2 separate regions of the Homo sapiens genome follow, and region 2 is linked to region 1. Evidence: promoter capture Hi-C in 16 types of primary human blood cells and fetal thymus (Javierre and others, 2016). All regions are on one chromosome and are shown on one strand. The core of a region is centred on a gene start or on the middle of the fragment in contact, and the rest is flanking DNA. Distances in the headings are between cores, read along the strand shown.

What was found. The method cuts DNA at HindIII sites, captures the fragments that hold promoters and counts their contacts. A CHiCAGO score of 5 or more calls a contact.
Region 2: a contact is called between a fragment that was not itself captured here and the fragment with the promoter of RAB27A in region 1, in 1 of 17 cell types (total CD8 T cells). The highest score is 5.3, in total CD8 T cells.

The regions. Positions count from the first base shown.
Region 1 is chr15:55,286,933-55,291,759 of GRCh38, reverse strand. RAB27A (RAB27A, member RAS oncogene family) reads left to right here and starts at 1,947. Exons shown (of 7, transcript NM_183235.3): 1 at 1,947-2,044. RefSeq lists an enhancer at 1,480-1,629 and a silencer at 1,730-2,259. The HindIII fragment of the contact is 29,121 bases long and covers 1-4,827 here.
Region 2 is chr15:55,251,584-55,256,410 of GRCh38, reverse strand. The region is part of intron 2 of RAB27A (RAB27A, member RAS oncogene family); the gene reads left to right. Among named protein-coding and RNA genes, the nearest start is that of RAB27A, 36 kb to the left of the region's middle. The HindIII fragment of the contact is 5,603 bases long and covers 1-4,827 here.

The DNA.
Region 1 (4,827 bases), core at 698-3,197:
TGGGCCATAGCACCATCCTAGGTTTTCTGATCTCCTGTCTGGTATACTCCTGGTGAGAGCCTTGCCTGGCCACAGGAGTGGGGAAAGCTGAAGGCAGGCTTTCCCTGTGCCATATCAGCCATTAGCAATTACTACATTATTGGTTTCCCAGATTTTAGCTGATCAGTGATTCCCAGGACTATTCCTCTGGACATGAACATGAGGCTACCTTTTCCCTTTTTTTTTTTTTTTTTTTTTTTTTTTTTTTTTGAAACAGAGTCTCGCTCGGTCGCCCAGGCTGGAGTGCAGTGGCGCCATCTCGGCTCATTGCAACCTCCACCTCTCGGGTTCAAGCGATTCTCCTGCCCTCAGCCTCCTAAGTAGCTGAGACTACAGGCGCGTGCCACGACGCCCTGCTAATTTTTTGTATTTTTAGTAGAGACGGGGTTTCACCGTGTTAGCCAGGATGGTCTCGATCTCCTGACTTCGTGATCTGCCGGCCTCGGGCTCCCAAAGTGCTGGGATTACAGGCGTGAGCCACCTAACCCGGCCTTTTTCTCTCTTAACCTCACCAACAGTCTGATGGCCCTTCTCTCACACGGGAAGAGCTCTTGAAGTTATCAACCTGTTAGGACATTTGTTATCTCTAAACCCGAGTTTACTGTGTTATGTTTGCCTGGAAATGTTATATCAAATGTATGAAATTGCCAACTGTTTGTAATTTCATATGGTTCATCCTATATGTGATTTTGTAAATTGGACCCACCTGAGAAGCTAACTGCTGTAATGCCAACTGTGAGTAGCTACAGACTGGAAAGGTGATGGAGTTGACCGGGTGGGCCTGCGACAGCTGGAATTTGCGGTGGAGGTAGACACAAGTCAGCGAGACGGCTTAGAAGGCAGAAGGGAAGCTGAACTAAGGCTTCTCAACATTTTACTCTGCTTAGAAGTGGAAACATTTGGTTCAAAGGGCCTTTGCCTTAGACTCCATAGGGACAGGCCCAAGGGCTGCTGTTCACACCTCCTGGCCACTGAGAGGGATGAACTTGGCTGCCTCTGAGTGGGAACCACGAGGTCTGACCCCCTACGCAGTCCCAGGTTCACTACCCCGCAGGCCGGAGCGACACCGTTGGCGCTGGGAGAAGAGAGCCGCTGGGTGGCAGCAAAGGCGCGCAGGTTTCTTCCGACAGAGGCGGTTCCTTAACATACTGTAGTTTTCTTCTTTTTAAACTCATTGCTCTAACACTCTTAGAAATTTACAGTGGTTTTATATTCTTGAATTACACAGTGTGAGCAGAGACTCCGTTTGCCATTTCCTCCCGGAATTACATTGATTTTTTTCCTGCGAAATTTTTTACTTATTTTTCTCCCATGTTATTTCCAGGAATCCTGGGCATTCCCTTGCCCCGGAAACGCCGTGTCCAGGCCGACCTAAGCCAGGAGCCGCAGGGGCGGGAAGCCGGGGGCAGGGCCGGGCCTGGGACGCCGCCTCAGGAGCCGCGCGGACTCGGGAACCTCGGGCGGGGCCGGCGTGAGTACGCCCGGCACCTCCGGCTGCTACGGTGGCGACCGCGAACTGATGCCGTGGAAAACACCCTTAGAACATGGCTTTTTGGGGAGGTGAATAGGGGAGAGTCCCCAAACGACACCTCGCCGCGCACCGGTCCTTGGTGCAGTTTGTAAATGTCCCTCCTGTGTCCCAAAACGAAAACACTCCTATATTTTGTAGCGCCTTCCAGAATGGGGCAGCGGAAACTAGTGTTGGGACAAAGGAGGCGAGCGGGGCCTTTTCGGGGCTCACAGAGGACCCCTCGGAGGCGCGGCCGCCGGGGAGAGCGCGACAGCACCCCGCCCCCCGCCAGCCGGGCGGGGGCCGCTCCCGAGGTGACAGGAGAAGGCGGGAGGTGGAGGAGAGAAGGTCCCGCCCCACCTCGCTCTCCTTTACGGGAAGTGATGTGGGGCCAGGCGGAAAATACCCGCCAACGACCCAAAAAAGGCCGGCGGCGGGTGGACGCGGCGCGCGAGGACCCGAGCCAGGCGGGGACAGGACGGCGGGGCGAGCCAGGTGAGGGGGCCTGAGGAGCGGGAGGCGCGCGGCGGGTCCGGTCCCTCCGGGAGGGCCGAGCGAGGCGTCCCCCTGGGGCCGTCCTAGGGCTGGGGTCCGAGTGCGCCGCCCTTCCTCCCCGCCTCCAGGCGCCCGAGCCCGCCTGAAGAGTGGCTTCTCTCCCAGGCCCTCAGCGCAGACCCCAGTGATGACAACTGCCTGGTGCTGGCCAGGTGCGGTCCCAGGTCCGGCCAGGGTCTCAGATCGCCTCCGGGTTGCATCCAGGTGGGAGGATGCCCATCAGGGGTAGGAAACTTTCCAGGAGGGAAAGGAGGAAAGTCCCCGACCTCCCGCACGCCCCCCGGTTCATTCCTCCCTCTTTTGCTTTCAGTTTAACTGTTTAACCTGGTTGCCCTCCGGTTGGTGAGGGTCTGGACTGCAGACTAGCTGCGAGGGAGGGGCTCTCTCTTCTCCTGTCAGTTAGACTGAAAACTACCTGGCAGCCAGGCCCTCCGGTCGGGACTGGTGGTGGTGCAGATATGATGACAGGCTTTGGTAACTATTGCCAAAGCCTGTCTCTGTCCCAATAGATCACCAGTTCAGCAAAGTCAGGCCTGAAGCGAAGGGAGTCTTGTGAGCCCTGGACTGAGGAGCCTTCCCAGCCTTTCCGCTCCTGCTGGCCACCTGGGCCCACATGGCCTCAGGGTCTTCTGCCACAGGGTCCTTACCCCTACAGCTTAACAGCTGTTCTTTCCTTCTGGATGGATTCTCACATTTTATGGTTGGTTGATCAGTCAGATGTTGGAATTGGGGGTAGAGGGATTATAGAGTTGTGTGTGCTATTTAAGTTTTCTGTAATCATTGCTAATTAAATTTGTTGATTCTCCACTCACTGTTCTTGTTCTTTTTTTTTTTTCGGCCTTAAAAACTTGCTTTAGAGGGAAAATACAATCTGGAAAACAGTTTCTGCAGATGGTTAGAAGTGAAGAAAGGTTAATATAATGCTGAAGGAACTTGACTGAGGATCATTATTTTCTGTATTTTATGTTGGTTTATGTTGTTTTATGTTTTCATTCCTACTTTTTTCTTCCTTCCTTTCTACCATTCTCTCTTCCTCCCTCCCTCCCTTTTTTCTTCCTTCCTTAATTTCTGTGACGTGCCTTGATTTTTAATTTCGTTGAAGTATATTTAATCTATTTTTCCTTTTTTTTCTTTTGAGACAGAGTCTCACTCTGTCGCCCAGGTAGGAATGCGGTGGCATGATCTTGGCTCACAGCAACCTCCGCTTCCTGGGTTGAAGTGATTCTTTTGCTTCAGACTCCAGAGTAGCTGGAATTACAGGTGTGTGCTACCATGCTTGGCTAATTTTTGTATTTTTAGTAGAGGCGGGGTTTTGCTATGTTGGCCAGGCTGGTCTTGAACTCCTGACCTCAAGTGATCAACCTGCGTCAGCCTCCCAAAGTGCTGGGATTATAGGCTTGAGCCACTGCACCGAGCCTATTTTTCCTTTTGTTGTTTGTGCTTTTGATGTCAAAGTTAAGAAAACATTGTCAAATTCAAGATCATGAAGATTTATACTTATGTTTTCTTCTAAAAGTTTTATAGTTTTTAGCTCTTACATTTCATTCTTTGACCCATTTTAAGTTAATTTTTAAATATGGTGTGAGGCAGGGGGTCTGACTTCAACTTTTTGCATGTGGATATCCAGTTCTTTCAGCACCATTTGTTTAAAAGACTGTTCCTCTTTGAATAGTTTTGGCACCTCTGTTGAGATAAATTGACCATGAATGTAAAGGTTTATTTCTGGACTGTCAGTTCTATTCCATTGATCTGTATGTCTGTCCTCAGGCTAGTATCATACTACCTTGATTATTGTAGCTACATAGTGTTTTGAAATCAGGATATGTGAGTCCTCCAACCTTGTTCTTTTTCAAGATTGTTTTGACTATCCAGTCCCTTGAATTTCCATATGAATTTTTTTTTTTTTTCGAGATGGAGTTTTGCTCTTATTTACCAGGCTGGAGTGCAATGGCACGATCTCAGCTCACTGCAACCTCCGCCTCCCTGGTTCAAGTGATTCTCCTGCCTCATCCTCCTGAGTAGCTGGGATTACGGGCATGTGCCACCATGCCTGGCTAATTTTATATTTTTAGTAGAGACAGGGTTTCTCCATGTTGGTCAGGCTGGTCTCGGACTCCCGATCTCAGGTGATCTGTCTGCCTCAGCCTCCCAAAGTGCTGTGATCATAGGCATGAGCCACCATGCCTGGCCTTCCACATGAAATTTAAAGTCAGCTTCTCAATTTCTATTGTTTTGGTTCTAAAATAGATGTAAGGGTTTTAAAGTGAGCAACAATCTCTAGGAGCCAGATTTTTGAGTTTTCTCTCCCAAAGCTGCTTTTCCCCTAGTCTTCTCCATCTTAGTGAATGGCAACTTCACTCTTCCAGATGCTCACACCAAACACCCTGAAATCACTCTTGATTCTTTCTCTTATACCCCACATTAAATTCCTCAGCAGGCCGGGTGCGGTGGCTCACGCCTGTAATCGCAGCACTTTGGGAGGCCGAGACAGGTGGATCACGTGAGGTCAGGAGTTCAAGACCAGGCTGGCCAACATGGTGAAGCCCTGTATCTACTAAAAATACAAAAATTAGCGGGGCGTGGTGGTGGGTGCCTGTAATCACAGCTACTCAGGAGGCTGAGGCAGGAGAATCGCTTGAACCCAGGAGGCGGAGGTTGCAGTGAGCTAAGATCGTGCCATTGCACTCCAGCCTGGGCGACAGAGTGTGAGTCCGTCTCAAAAA
Region 2 (4,827 bases), core at 1,084-3,583, 36 kb after region 1:
ACAGGGTCTCACTCTGTCACCCAGGCTGGAGTGTGGTGACATAGTCATGGCTCACTGCAGCCTTGAACTCTTGGGCTCAAGTGATCCTCCCACCTCAGCCTTCTGAGTAGCCGGGACTACTGGCACAGGCCACCTCACCTTGCTAATTAAAAAAATTTTTGTACAACAGCATCTCATTATGTTGCCCAGGTTGGTTTTGATCTCTTGGGCTCAAGTGATCCTCCTACCTCAGTCTCTTGAATAGGTGGGATTACAGGTATGAGCCTCCATGCCCGACAGATTGCTCCCCTTTTCTGACCTCCCAGCCTCTACTTGACTTGTAAAACAACGATCTTACATGTACCCAGTAGTTTACAGTTTATAAAATGCATTTCACATAATGTACCCTTTAATCCTTCCAATAATCTTGCTAGATAAATATTCCCATATTGAGGAAACAGTGTGGGGAAGCTGTCTGGCTCACCACAGGACACATAGCTAGGAAGGAAGTAGCAGAGTTCAGGTCTTTTGACTTGAAGCCCCTTTCACTTTTGATTTCTTGTGCTGGCTGGTGCACATGGTGTACCAGACGTTTTTCTCCCTGATAATATTGTCTTATCCGTCCTTTTTCGTAAATGAGTACATCATTCCACCTCACCCTAATTACCAACTTCTTGAAGGGAGCAGTTGGATCCTGTGTTTCTTTCATGCCATTCGTAGTTGCTAGCACCGTACTGGAAAGGTAGTAATTGCTTACCAAATACTGTTGAATTGGATGTAAATATGGTTTAATTATCAAAAAAGCACAGCTATCAGTGGAGTCCCCAAACACTTTTTGAGTCACTTCTAAATAAAATTGGCAGGGAATGGAGGGAACCAGCGGAAGGAAAAGGCTATTAGAGAAAGCAGATGATAGACACAATTAGCATTTGAGTGACAGCTGGCCAGTTGTCTGTCCAGTGGTGAGGGGTAGTGGAGAAGCAATACACAAAATGAGACTCTTCAGGAAATATGCAACTGTACCAAAGAGATGAAACACACCCATGAGGTGGGAATGGAGTACTTAAAAGTGGCAGATGACCTGTACAAGTTAGCCAAAGCATTCATTCATATTAATAAACATTGATTAAAGGAATACCCCGAGGAGGATGGATTTATGAGAACAGGCTTCCAGGGTGAGAGTGGAAGGGATAGAGTTGCAGTTTGGTTTCAGTTTGTGATCATTCTGTTAATTACTGGAACCAGGAGAAAAGAGACATAAGTAGGTGAGGATGTTGCCGTTGAAACAACTTTCTCTTCCCTTTCTTATACTATGTGCAGTCAATAGGACCTCAGCCCTGAGCCCTGGCAGTCAGAAGTGAAGGAAAGACAAATAATTGCTCATGTCATCTGTGCATAGAGGTGTGTAGTGATGAGCAACTTGCTGGATTTTCTGGTACTGCCTCCTTTAACGTATTTTTGTGCATTTTCTTCATAAATCAAAGAGATGCTTTAAAAGTTCTAATACTTGGACAACTAAATTGTGTTTCCAACTCTGCCTTTTCCCAAAAGGGTCACAAAAATCCATAGACATAAGCCGCAGATTTTGGTTTGGAAAGTCATGCTGCATTTTATCTTTATGTTTGGGCTGCTCCCGAGTTCATAAATATTTTGTGCCTGAAAGAAATGTAAAACCCCTTCCACTGTAATATATGTGAAAAATGTCCAATTTCTTAATAGTAGAAGCCAAACATTTTCTTTTGTGAGTTTCTGTCTCCTACAGAGAACATAAGATGGAGGGCTTTTAGATTAGAAGTAATAGAATTTTAATATCTGTTCCTTCCTGTCTCAGAATTTTTCACAGTTTATAAGTATATTATAAGAGCTAAAGGAATGTATATCTAAAATGCTTACAAGCATCAGAAATTAATGGAAATTATTTCAAATTAATTAAAAATTATAATTTTTATACAAAATAATTTTATCATGTTGTATGCTGTAGATTCTAAAAGAAAAATAAAAAACTTTTATTTCTTAGACATTCATATGTGGTTTTAAAGTGATATATCTAGGAAAATAGATTAGTACCATTGAGGCCTATTGTTAGATGTGTTGGTTTATTTTTAATGCTTGATGGCTATATAGCAATTATATTTTTTATGTGATAAGCAAGTATGTATAGGAAAGTAATAACTTAAAAGGAATGTCATTATAATATTTCTTTCTTTAAAAAATAGGAAGGTATTTCTCGAGGTCAAAACTCAACTTACAAACCTTGCAGCCAAATTTGTTGGTATATAAAGTCTAACTTTATACTTTAAAATGTGGACATACTAAAATGTGATTGTAGAATTATGAGATTGATTTTCATGTGTGACTTCTGAAACCTTTTTTACTACTTTACAGTTATCTCTCATGCAGAATCTCATTTCAACCTCATTTAAAAAATTAAGTGTACTGTTACTTGTTTTTGTGATTTCCCCTGAACACTCAAACATAGTTTCTGAAGACTTACTTATTACTTATCAATTATCCATGTTATAAACACGTGGATACTTACATCTTCATGGTTTATGCTGCTCTTGTCTACAATTTCCTTTATCCTCTTGCGTTGTTCTCTTGCTGATTCATAGTCTCTTTGCTAACACAAAGTCTTTATTTCTGTGTTAGTAAATCTGTATTGAGGTTTATTCCCCGACTCTTTTTTTTTTTTAAACAAGGCTCTTGTTCTTTCTGAGTCACCCTCTTGCCTGCTTATTTTAGCCCTTATGTTCTTAACCTCTAGGCTTCAAATATCTTTCTCAGAGGCATGTTAAGAAAATAGGAGCTTTGTTTCCATAGATGGCCTTATCCTGGGCTTAGCTGAGGACAGAGACAAGGTATGGCCTTGGGGGACTAAGTTCTAACCTGGATGCTTGGCTTTCCATCTGCCTAGGTAGGAAAACGAAACTTAGTGAAGGAACCTAGTTGGAATACTTAGGGAGCCTTTCTTTTTTTTTTTCCTTTGAGACGGAGTCTCGCTCTGTCACCCAGGCTGGAGTGCGGTGGCACGATCTTGGCTCACTGCAACCTCTGCCTCCCTGGTTCAAGCGATTCTCCTGCCTTAGCCTCTGGGGTAGCTGGAATTATAGGCACCCGCCACCGTGCCCGGCTAATTTTTGTATTTTTAGTAGAGATGGGTTTCACCATGTTGGCCAGGCTGGTCTCGAATACCTGACCTCAGGTGATCTGTCAGCCTTGGCTTTCCAAAGTGCTGGGATTATAGGCATGAGCCACCACGCCTGGCCATTAGGGAGCCTTTCTTTCTTTTTTTTTTTTTCAGAGACAGAGTCTTGCTCTGTCACCCAGGCTGGAGTGCAGTGGCACGATCTTGGCTCACTGCAACCTCCGCCTCCTGGGTTCAAGTGATTCTACTGCCTCAGCCTCCTGAGTAGCTGGGATTACAGGCACATGCCACCATGCCCAACTAATTTTTGTAATTTTAGTAGGGCTGGGGTTTCACCATGTTGGCCAGCTGGTCTCGATCTCTTGACCTCGTGATCCACCCGCCTTGGCCTCCCAAAGTGCTGGGATTACAGGTGTGAGCCACCGCGCCCGGCCAGGGAGCCTTTCAAACTGGTTGGCAGAGTAGAGGAAAGCAAGTTGATTGAATAAATTGCTGTAACTTAGAAGGTTAGAACATTTCTCTGGCTTTTGATAAAGCAACAACTACTATGGGTCTTTTTTTTTGTATATAGATAGATAGATACGTATATCTGTATCTATCTGTCTGTCTGTCTGTCTATCAATCAATAGCTTTTGGGGTTTTTGGCTGCATGGATGAATTATTATTTTATTCTGTACGTTTTTTTGAGATGGAATCTCACTCTGTCGCCCAGGCTGGAGTACAGTAGTGCGATCTTGGCTCACTGCAGCTTCCGCCTCCCAGGTTCAAGCCATTCTCGTGCCTCAGCCTTCAGAGTAGCTAGGATTACAGGCACGTGTCCCCACGCCTAGCTAATTTTTGTATTTTTTAGTAGAGATGGGGTTTCCCCATGTTGGCCAGGCTGTTGAACTCCTGGCCTCAAGTGATCCACCTGCCTTGGCCTGCCAAAGTGCTGGGATTACAAGTGTGAGCCACTGTATCCAGCCACTTGGATGAATAATATAGTGGTAAATTCCGAGATTTTAGTGCACCCATCACCTGAATAGTGTACATTGTACCCAATATGTAGTTTTTATATCCCTCACCACCCTCCCCCGGTCTTTTCTAGCTACTGTTGCTGTGGGCTCTAATGAACTGTGTTGTCTGCCCAGATGTCCTCTTGAATTCTTGGAATGCTGACCTCCAAGACTCCCAGATCCATAAACTACTCTTCCCCTTTGTTGACCTGCTCCTTAGTCTCTTGGTGTTTGACCTTGGTATGACTTTGAACACCTGTCTGAAAACTCCCTTTGTACTTAATCCCTGTGGGTTGGAGTTGATTTTGTGCTGCCTTGACATGAAGCCAGGTAGGGAGTGCTAGGGGTTTCTCTGTCCCCTCTACCTCATGCCGCTTTCTCCTTCCCTGGAACTTTGTAATGGTTTCAAGCAAGGGTACTTTCATGTAAAACACTCCTCATGACACAGACATTAGCTGAGCCTAATACTAGAAATTTCTTCTGAATTCATAGAAAGAAAATGAAGTTAGTAGAGAAAATCTGAACTTTTACTTTGATCAGTATTTTAAAAAATTTTTGTACCTCTTTATTCCCTTCTGTGCTATAATTTAGTATAAAGTGGCTTCTGATACAGCACAAAATAATATATTCTCAGTTATCTTAAAGTTGCTATACCAACATTTCATTGTGTTCTTCAAACCACATCTTGACTTTTGAGGGTTCATCCAT